3 separate regions of the Homo sapiens genome follow, and regions 1 and 3 are each linked to region 2. The links are contacts of gene promoters, found by promoter capture Hi-C in blood cells and fetal thymus (Javierre and others, 2016). All regions are on one chromosome and are shown on one strand. The core of a region is centred on a gene start or on the middle of the fragment in contact, and the rest is flanking DNA. Distances in the headings are between cores, read along the strand shown. Region 1 holds the start of ANGPTL8 (angiopoietin like 8). Region 2 holds the start of EPOR (erythropoietin receptor). Region 3 has its middle 8.6 kb from the start of ZNF627.

Region 1 (3,237 bases), core at 602-3,101, 140 kb before region 2:
AACTCGGGGGACCTGGCAGAATCGGGCTGGGGGATCTGCTGGGGGCTGGGGTCCCCACTGTCTGCCCCATCACCTCTGCCATGCCACGCCCTTATTGCTGCTAGGCCCCACTGTCTCTGCTGTCTGCCTCAGCTTCCCTCATTAGCACTCTGGGAGCCTCTACCTCTCTTCTTCCTGTCCCCCATCTTCCCATCGATGCTGCCTTATGTGTATATATAAGGGACATCCTCCTACCCCCATGAGTGCCCCCAAGTTCCTCACGTGTCCCCCTACATACTTGTTATGGTAGACCACCGGTGTGAAGGCCTCGCGGGTAAATTCACTGCAGCTGGACTTGCCAAAGATGACCTGGGAGAGTGGATTCATGAGGGACCCATGGGGGATGCCCTACCCCCCTTCCCTGGGGCACAGCCACTGACCGGCAGAGCCTGGCTGGGGTCCTCGCCTGTCATGTACTGCACTCGCACAGCAAGGTTGCGCACGGAGCCCTGGCGGCTGCTGAAGTTGAGGCTGTGCGGGTACACGTACAGCAGGTTCCTGTGGGGGGCAGGATGGGGGTGTCAGAGGGACAGGGGCCCTGAAGGTGCACATACAAGGCTGGGGTGATGGGACAAGGCTGGCTGGGAGCACAGACAGTCCAGGAAGAGTAGGTCATGAGGCTGGGGCATTGAGGGCCCGGTGAGAGGTAATACAGGTATCAGTCAGGAGATAGGACAGAGGGCAGAGGGTGGGGGACAAGCGAGCACCCTAAAAACACAGATTGGGAACAGTGTGGTAGAGGGTGGGAATACAGAAGGACATTGGAGGCACTCATGGGGCACAGTGACACACAGAAGGCAGAGAATAGCGAGGCACTCAGGGCCAGAGTTCCAAGGTACCTCAGGTGGCCAGTGGTCAAGCCTAAGCCCCACCCAAGGGCCTGACTGCCCTTCCCCCAGGAGGTCACTAGAGTTATGTGGCCTGTTTCTCAGGTGGGGAAACTGAGGCCAGAGTCCGAGTCCTGCCTCCTTCCCCCAGGGGCAACTCTGTGCAAGCCTTGACCCCTCTCTGGGCCTCAGTTTCCCTATGTGTATAATGGGCACTTCAGGCCTTCCAGCTGAGCCTTTGTAATGATACTGATGATGATAAATAACAACAATGACAATAATTGCACCAAACACTATTACTACAACAATGAAATAATCGCGCCTACTGTGTGCCAGGCTCTGTTCTAAGCACTCAACATGAAATAACTCATTTACTTCTCACAAGTAGCTCATGAGGCAGGACTAACATCACCGCCATTTTACAAGCAGGGAAACTGAGGTACTTGCACAATCACCCACGGAGTAAAATGGCAGTCAGTGGTGATCTGGGCATATGCAGGTCTTGGAGATCAGGCTGTGTGACCTTGGGAGAGTCTCTGCCACCTGCACCTGCCCCCTTGGATACTAACCAGGCCAATAAAAGCCCCCACGTGGCAAGTATGTGGGAGGGGAACAAGAGCAGATATTGTAATGGCAGGTCAAACAGCTCAGGGCAAACCATCAATGCTTATAAAATCTTTACTGTTATTACCATCATCATTGCGATGCCTATTCATAGATGGAGAAACAGGCTCAGCATGGTGAGTCTCAGGAACTCCCAGCAGGGTCTGGGGCCCGTCCTCTCCCAATGCCCCCCACCCACACCTGGCCCTGAGCCCCAGGAAGCGTGATCCCGGCGTGGCCTAGCCGGACATTCGCCTGATGCAACTATCGCACCACTGCCAGGCCCTTGTGCAATGCGGGGCACCAGGTCGGCCAGTTAACGATTGACTGGGGATCAGTGGGGGTATGAGGCATAAAAGGCTTCAGTGACAGTGCTGTGGCTATACCTTAGACCCTCAGTCATGCCAGTGCCTGCTCTGTGCCTGCTCTGGGCCCTGGCAATGGTGACCCGGCCTGCCTCAGCGGCCCCCATGGGCGGCCCAGAACTGGCACAGCATGAGGAGCTGACCCTGCTCTTCCATGGGACCCTGCAGCTGGGCCAGGCCCTCAACGGTGTGTACAGGACCACGGAGGGACGGCTGACAAAGGCCAGGAACAGCCTGGGTCTCTATGGCCGCACAATAGAACTCCTGGGGCAGGAGGTCAGCCGGGGCCGGGATGCAGCCCAGGAACTTCGGGCAAGCCTGTTGGAGACTCAGGTGGGCACCGTAGCTGCGACACTGTGGGGTGGCCAGGAGTCCAAAGAGGAGTTCGTGTCTAGGGTAACCAACCATCCTGGTTTGCCCAGGACTGAAGGGATTCCTGGGATACAAGATTTTCAGCGATAAACTCAGGCAAGTCCTTAGGTACACAAAGATGAGTTGGACATCCTACTAGTGACCCACTGTTTATTAAGCAGATGGAGGAGGATATTCTGCAGCTGCAGGCAGAGGCCACAGCTGAGGTGCTGGGGGAGGTGGCCCAGGCACAGAAGGTGCTACGGGACAGCGTGCAGCGGCTAGAAGTCCAGCTGAGGAGCGCCTGGCTGGGCCCTGCCTACCGAGAATTTGAGGTCTTAAAGGTAAGGAGCTCCCCCAACCCTAGTGGGCTGAGACCCTGATTTCCGGCCAGAACTCGCTTCTGCACCTTGAGTCCCAAAGACCTCCCAGATCAGCCTCCCAGCTCTGTGGCCTCTACCCTGCATGTCCCCAGACAAAACTCAAGTCCTTTTGTGTGCCTCAGTTTCCCTTTTGTGTGCCTCAGTTGCAAATAAGGGCAACACCTGATATCTCACAGTAGGGCCAGGTACTCAATGCAGGTAAAATATTCAGCATGGGGCGGGCACACAGTTGGTGCTCAATAAATTCTTTTTTTTTTTTTTTTTGAGACAGAGTCTCACTGTTGCCCAGGCTGGAGTGCAGTGGTGTGATCTTGGCTCACTGCAACCTCCACCTCCTAGGTTCAAGTGATTCTCCTGCCTCAGCCTCCTGAGTAGCTGGAATTACAGGTGCACCAGCTAATTTTTGTATTTTTTAGTAGAGATGGGATTTCACCATGTTGGCCAGGCTGGTCTCGAACTCCTGACCTCAAGGGATCTGCCTGCCTCGGTTTCCCAAAGTGCTGGGATTACAGGTGTGAGCCACTACACCTGGCCAATAAATTCTTACTACTAGAGAAACTGGTAACATTTTGTGAGCACCCAGTAAGTACCCAGCACTGTTCTATGCCCTTTAATAATCCATATGATGGCCGGGCATGGTGGCTCATGCCTGTAATCCCAGCACTTTGG
Region 2 (3,286 bases), core at 778-3,277:
AATTCTGGGGCTTAAGGGATCCTCCCACCTCAGCTTCCCAAGTAGTTGAGACCACAGGCACGCGCCACGCCTGGCTTTTTTTTTTTTTTTTTTTGAGACGGAGTTTCGCTCTTGTTGCCCAGGCTGGAGTGCAATGGCGCTACCTCGGCTCACCGCAACCTCCGCCTCCCGGGTTCAAGCGATTCTCCTGCCTCAGCCTCCCGAGTAGCTGGGATCACAGGCATGCGCCACCACGCCCGGCTAATTTTGTATTTTTAGTAGAGATAGAGTTTCTCCATGTTGGCCAGGCTGGTCTCAAACTCCCGACCTCAGGTGATCCGCCCGCCTCAGCCTCCCAAAGTGCTGGGATTACAGGCGTGAGCCACCGCGCCCAGTCTAATTTTTTTTTAAGAGACGGGGATCTCGCTGTGTTGCCCAGGCTGGTCTTGAACTCCTGGGCTCAAGCGGTTCTTCCGCCTCGACCTTCCAAAGAGTTGGGATTACAGGCATGAGCCACTGCTGGCCTCCTTTTGGATACTACCTCGAGAAGGCGTCCCAGCCCCGACGTAGTAACGCCTTACCCTCGATTTGGAGGCGTTGTTATCCCAGCCTGATGTTTGGGGTCGCGTTCCAGCGGTGATCGCGGGAGTGTTCGCGCCCCGGCCCATAGAGGGCGTGCCAGCCCTGGACCCGCAGGTTTCCCTCCAGTGACCACGACTGGAGGCGCCGTCGGGCCTCAAACAGCAGGGGACATACGAGGCTACGACCTCCAGGGAGCTCTGCCCCACCCCCTCCCTCCGCCCTTGGAGGCACCCGCCGGATCGGACTCACTCGAGCTGGTAGGAGAAGCTGTAGTTGCCCGGGCCCACCCCAGCGCTCGCCGCTTCCTCCCAGAAACACACCAAGTCCTCCAACCGCTCGGTGAAGCACAGAAGCTCTTCGGGCCCCCGGGCCGCCAGCAAGGCCGCTGGGGAGGGGCGACAAAGGAAGGGCATGGGGGTCTGAGCTCTATCCTCGGGAGACAGCCCCCTCCTCTTCCCTCCCGCAGCCTGGGCGGACCCGATAAGAAAAAAGCCCCGCCCTGCCATCTTCCCAAGCGGGTCCCTTGGAGGGGTCCGCAGAGGTGGTGCCCCCCTAATTCCCAGGGGCAAGTTTCTCGCCTTACTGTCCCCCGCCGTCACCACTGGCGCACACCTGCCCACCCAGCGGCCAGCTGAGCTGGGCGCGGCGTTCAAGACCTCGAGCTCGGGACTGCCAGCCCCGCCCCAGCCTAGGACACGCGCGCGGCTGGGGGTGTGTGCGGAGAGGCGGGCCCCCTATCGGCCCCGGCAGGCTCCCCGCCAACCGATAGCGCCAACCGTGCCCCCCGCCTCCCTCCCTCCACCGGGCCGGGCAAGTGATCTGGCGCCCTCACACAAACCGTGTTTACAGTAGCCTGTGGCTTGGCCCCTCTAACTCGGACCCGGGCTTTACCCTCCCTCCCCTAGGGAGGGTCGGCTTGGTCCCCACCCCCCAGGGACCTTAGCACCAAGTCAGCCCCCTTAGGATTTAGCATGTCCCAGACTCCCTGAAAAGGTAAAACGGGAATGTTAAGCCCACTCTAGCTCTTGCCCGGGACGCGATCAGGAGTCTTGGATCCTAACATACCCCACCCCGCCCCCCACCCATCCAGGACCCAGTCTAAGGGTTCAGATGCCAGCTTGGCCCCCAGGACCCGGTCAGGAAGTCCAGAAACAGGCATGGCCCCCAGGACCTAGGCTGGGAGTTCAGGCCCCAGCATGGTCCTGCAGGCTCCAGCGTAGGGGTCCACACGCAGCTCATCCTTACCTTTGCTCTCGAACTTGGGGTCCGGGAGGTTAGGCGGGGGCGCCCAGGCGGCCCCAGCGAGCAGGAGACAAAGGGAGCCGACCTGGGGCCAGAGGGACGCCCCGAGGTGGTCCATGATACAGCCCCCGCCACGGGGAGCCCAGGGCTCCTGCCCCTCCGTCCCCCGCCCCCGGCACAGTCCACAGCTGGGTCAGCAGCTGCCTCCGCCGGACGCAGCTGACCAGGCCCTTCCCGACCAGGCGCCTCTAAGTGGCAGATCCCCGAGGGGGCGGGGCCAGCACTCAGCCTGGGTAGAGATAAGTGCCTGGCGGGAGGAGGCAGGGGCCCTTCCCGAGCCCAGAGGCCGCTTGGGGGCAGGGGAGGGAGTTGGGCCGCAACAGCTCCCGTTCTGGCTTCAGACACACGTTTTTTTTTTCTTTGTGGCCCTGGACAGGTGACTTACCTTACCTGAGCTTCAGACTTCTCATCTGTAAAATCTAGCCTGGCACATAGCGAACATTCCAAAAAATGTACCTACTGATTTTATCGCAGAAATCAGCATCTCTTCCCAGCCTGGAAATAAATAAAAATTATTTTCTCTCTCTCTCTCTCTCTCTCTCTCTCTCTCTCTCCTTTCCTTCCTTCCTTCCTTCCTTCCTTCCTTCCTTCCTTCCTTCCTTCCTTCCCTCCTTCCCTCCTTCCCCCTCTCTCTCTCTGTCTCAGGGTGTTGCTCTGTCACCCAGGCTGGAGTGCAGTGGCACAATCATAGCTCACTGCAGCCTCTGGACTGAAGCAATCTTCCCACTGCACCTGGCTAATTTTTAAAATTCTTTGTAGAGATGGGATCCCACTATGTTGTCCAGGCTGGTCTTGAAATCCCGGACTTAAGCAATCCTCCAGCCTCCATCTCCCAATGTGCTGGGAATACCAGCACGAGCCACTGAAGCCGGCCAATAATAATCCTTGCAACGACCAGCAGTTGAGTGTTTGCACAGTGCTAGGCCATGCTCCTGGGCAGTATGCATAATATGTGAGATTTTCATTTACGAATTTTTGGGAAAAAAATTTTTACCACCCACATTTTTATTCTCTTGGGCTGGGCCCGGTGGCTCACGCCTATAATCCCAGCACTTTGGGAGGCCGACGTGGGCAAATCACTTGAGGTCAGGAGTTTGAGACCAGCCTGGCCAACATGGTGAAATCCCATCTCTACTAAAAATACAAAAATTAGCCAGGTGTGGTGGCGTGTGCCTGTAATCCCAGCTACTCAGGAGGCTGAGGCATGAGAACTGCTTCAGTCTGGGAGATGAAGATTGCAGTGAGCCAAGATCATGCCACTGCAACTCCAGCCTGGGCAACAGAGTGAGACTGCATCTCAAAAAATAATAATAATTGGCTGGGCGCGGTGGCTCATACCTGTAATCCCAACACTTTGGGAGGCCGAGACAGGCGGATCATGAGGTCAGGAGTTCGAGACCAGCCTGGGCAACATGGCGAAACC
Region 3 (3,129 bases), core at 115-2,614, 200 kb after region 2:
ACAGGGCCTATCAATAAAGCAGTAAGGTCCTCTGTACTTAGACCAAAAACAAAAAAAAACAAAAAAAAAACAAAAAATGAAAATTACTCTTGCCTGTAATCCCAGCATTTAGGGAGGCTCAGGTGGGAAGATTGCTTGAGCCTAGGAGTTTGAGACCAACCTGGGCAATATGGTGAGACTTTGTCTCCAATATAGATAGATGATAGACGGATGGATAGAAGATAGACAGATTAGACAGAGAGAGAGAGAGAAAGGAGAGAGAGAGAGAGAGAGAAAAGAGGGGAGGGGAGGGGAGGGGAGGGGAGGGGAGGGGAGGGGAGGAGAGGAGAGGAGAGGAGAGGAGAGGAGAGGAGAGGAGAGGAGAGGAGAGGAGAGGAGAGAGAAATTAGGCAGAGGAGAGGAGAGAGAAATTAGGCAGATGCCTTGGGCAGTGAAGTCCCTGGGGATGGTCTACTGTTCCCGCAGCCTGAGCGCCTTTTTCAGACGTTTTTATCTGTCCACTGCTGCCCCTGCATGGCCACAGCCTGAACTGCAGCACCGAACGCAGACCCAGTTTCCCTTTTGGAGAAGAAATTAATGCTCCTTCCAGCCCCCCACTTGCCACTAGGCCTGTGCAGGGCGTGGACAGATTCTACAGTGGATCCAGCCAGAGACTGCCCCAGAGAAAATTCCAGGGGTGGGATGAGTGAGGTATGCTGGGACTGGAATGTTTGTAGGATAACATGATGAGCAGCCGGATTCCCAGGAAATTGCAAACCGTGTCTGCTCTGGTGAGATTCTCAGAGGAGGGGATCTATAGGCAGTTCTGAGTAGGCACTGGGTAAAAGCCTGGAAAGAGGACCCTGGCTTGGATGGGGCTCTGCCTCACTCGCCATGAGCTCCTTGGCGCTATCAGTCAGCACAGTTCAGCTGCATGGGTGTGAAGGTGTCCTGGTGACTGGCTACCCCCATGCCTGCCTCAGTGCACGGGAGGTGGAATTATGGATTTGGTGGGGCTCGCACAGGCTAAGGGACTGATTTTCAGTCTGGAGAATGGGAGGGCAGGATGAGCTGTGGAGGGTCAGGCTGGTGGTTTGGAGGGTGGCATGATGTAAATGTAGCTGTTCACTGTTGTAGTTTGCTGCCACCAGTTCAGTCTGGCTAGGTTCCAGGTGGGTCAATAATCTCAAATGGGGCTGGGCTCAGTGGCTCACACCTGTAATCCCAGCACTTCGGGAGGCCGAGGCGGGTGGATCACTTGAGGCCAGGAGTTCGAGACTAGCCTGCCTAACATGGTGAAACCTCGTCTATACCAAAATATAAAAAATTAGCCAGGTGTGGTGGCGGGCGCCTGTAAGCCCAGCTACTCGGGAGACTGAGGCAGGAGAATGCTTGAACCCAGGGGGTGGAGGTTGCAGTGAGCCAAGATCGTGCCACTGCACTCCAGCCTGGGCGACAGAGCGAGATTCCACCAAAACAAACAAACAAACAAAATCCCAAATCGGGAGAGGTGAGGTGGGGTCTGTCATGCCAAGGAGTTGGTTTCTTTCTTTTTTTTTTTTTTTTTTGAGATGGAGTCTCAGTCTGTCACCCAGGCTGGAGTGCAGTGGCGCTATCTCGGCTCACTGCAAGCTCCGCCTCCCGGGTTCACGCCATTCTCCTGCCTCAGCCTCCCAAGTAGCTGGGACTACAGGTGCCCGCCACCACGCCCGGCTAATTTTTTGTATTTTTAGTAGAGACGGGATTTCACCGTGTTAGCCAGGTTGCTCTCGATCTCCTGACCTCTTGATCCGCCCGCCTCGGCCTCCCAAAGTGCTGGGATTACAGGCGTGAGCCACCGCGCCCGGCCAGGAGTTGGTCTTTATATTACCTAACTCCCACCTCTTTCCTCAATGATTTGAACGTTTGATCATTTGAATGTTTGAATGTTTGATCCTCGTGATCAAACATTCCCGTTACTCTCTAGACCCCATCATGCTCCCCCAACCCCTCCCCACATCCTCTCAGATATCCACCAGCTCTAGCCCCCAGAGTAAAAACATCCATCGTCTCCACCATCAAGTGAAAGCAAATGGTGACTTCCTTGCCTCAGCCATTGCTGAGCCAGTTGGATGGCAAGGAGGAAAACCCCACCCAAGCCCCACCTAACCCCTGTCCTCCTTTTCATCCCAGCCGGTGCCCACTGATTCCATGGTTACCTGACTTATCCACTCCAGCTCCTGGTCCTTCTATCCTGGGTACCGCTGAACTGCTTGGGAGTAGCAGGCTGAGAAGTTCTGGTGCCCCTCCTGCAGCAAGGCTGTCAGCGGGCACGGGAGGATGCGGGGACCGGCTGGAGTAAGCCATAGCCAGGGCAGGAAGGAGCCCCACACAGATCTCCCTCAGCTGTGAACTCCACAACGACCCACCTCACAGTCAACAACACCAATGGACACTCGTTCCTCTAATCCCGTTATTACTAGGCACCCATTTCTCTCCACCCAAGGTTTTGTTCACCATCCTCAATTATTTATTATTTTTTTGAGATGGAGTCCAGGCTGAAGTGCAGTAACGCAATTTCGGCTCACTGTAGCCTCTGCCTCCCGGGTTCAAGCGATTCCCCTGTCTCAGTCTCCCAAGTAGCTGGGATTACAGGCCCCCGGCACCACGCCCAGCTACTTTTTGTATTTTTAGTAGAGACGGGGTTTCCCCATGTTTGCCAGGCTGGTCTCAAACTCTTGACTTCAGGTCATCTGCCTGCTTCGGCCTCCCAAAGTGCTGGGATTACAGACGTGAGCCACCACGCCCAGCCGGTACCCCCAATTATTTCAGTATTCATGATCCGCAGGAAGGAATACATATGTTTTGTTGTTGTTGTTGTTGTTTTGTTTTGTTTCTTTTGTATTTTTAGTAGAGATGGGATTTTGCCATGTTGGCCAGGCTGGTCTCAAACTCCTGACCTCAGGTGATCCTCCTGCCTCGGCCTCCCAAAGTGCTGGGATTACAGTTGTAAGCCACCATGCCAGGCCATGAATACATATGTTTTATTGAGTTCTTTTTTTTTTTTTTTTTTTTTTTTTGAGATAGGGTCTCACTCTGTTGCCCAGGCTAGACTGCAGTGGCACCATCTGCTCACTGTGACCTCGACCTCTCAAGCTCAAGCGATCCTCC

Evidence for each region. The method cuts DNA at HindIII sites, captures the fragments that hold promoters and counts their contacts. A CHiCAGO score of 5 or more calls a contact.
Region 1: a contact is called between the fragment with the promoter of ANGPTL8 here and the fragment with the promoter of EPOR in region 2, in 2 of 17 cell types (neutrophils and M1 macrophages). The highest score is 9.4, in neutrophils.
Region 3: a contact is called between a fragment that was not itself captured here and the fragment with the promoter of EPOR in region 2, in 2 of 17 cell types (total B cells and naive B cells). The highest score is 7.0, in total B cells.

Annotation. Positions count from the first base shown.
Region 1 is chr19:11,237,768-11,241,004 of GRCh38, forward strand. ANGPTL8 (angiopoietin like 8) reads left to right here and starts at 1,852. Exons shown (of 4, transcript NM_018687.7): 1 at 1,852-2,167; 2 at 2,368-2,529. The coding sequence starts at 1,871. DOCK6 (dedicator of cytokinesis 6) reads right to left here. Exons shown (of 48, transcript NM_020812.4): 15 at 420-537; 16 at 278-348; 17 at 1-12. RefSeq lists an enhancer at 1-178. The HindIII fragment of the contact is 20,410 bases long and covers 1-3,237 here.
Region 2 is chr19:11,382,287-11,385,572 of GRCh38, forward strand. EPOR (erythropoietin receptor) reads right to left here and starts at 2,028. Exons shown (of 8, transcript NM_000121.4): 1 at 1,807-2,028; 2 at 811-946. The coding sequence starts at 1,921. RefSeq lists a silencer at 1,268-1,327. The HindIII fragment of the contact is 13,821 bases long and covers 1-3,286 here.
Region 3 is chr19:11,587,302-11,590,430 of GRCh38, forward strand. It overlaps the pseudogene GAPDHP76. Among named protein-coding and RNA genes, the nearest start is that of ZNF627, 8.6 kb to the right of the region's middle. The HindIII fragment of the contact is 6,110 bases long and covers 1-3,129 here.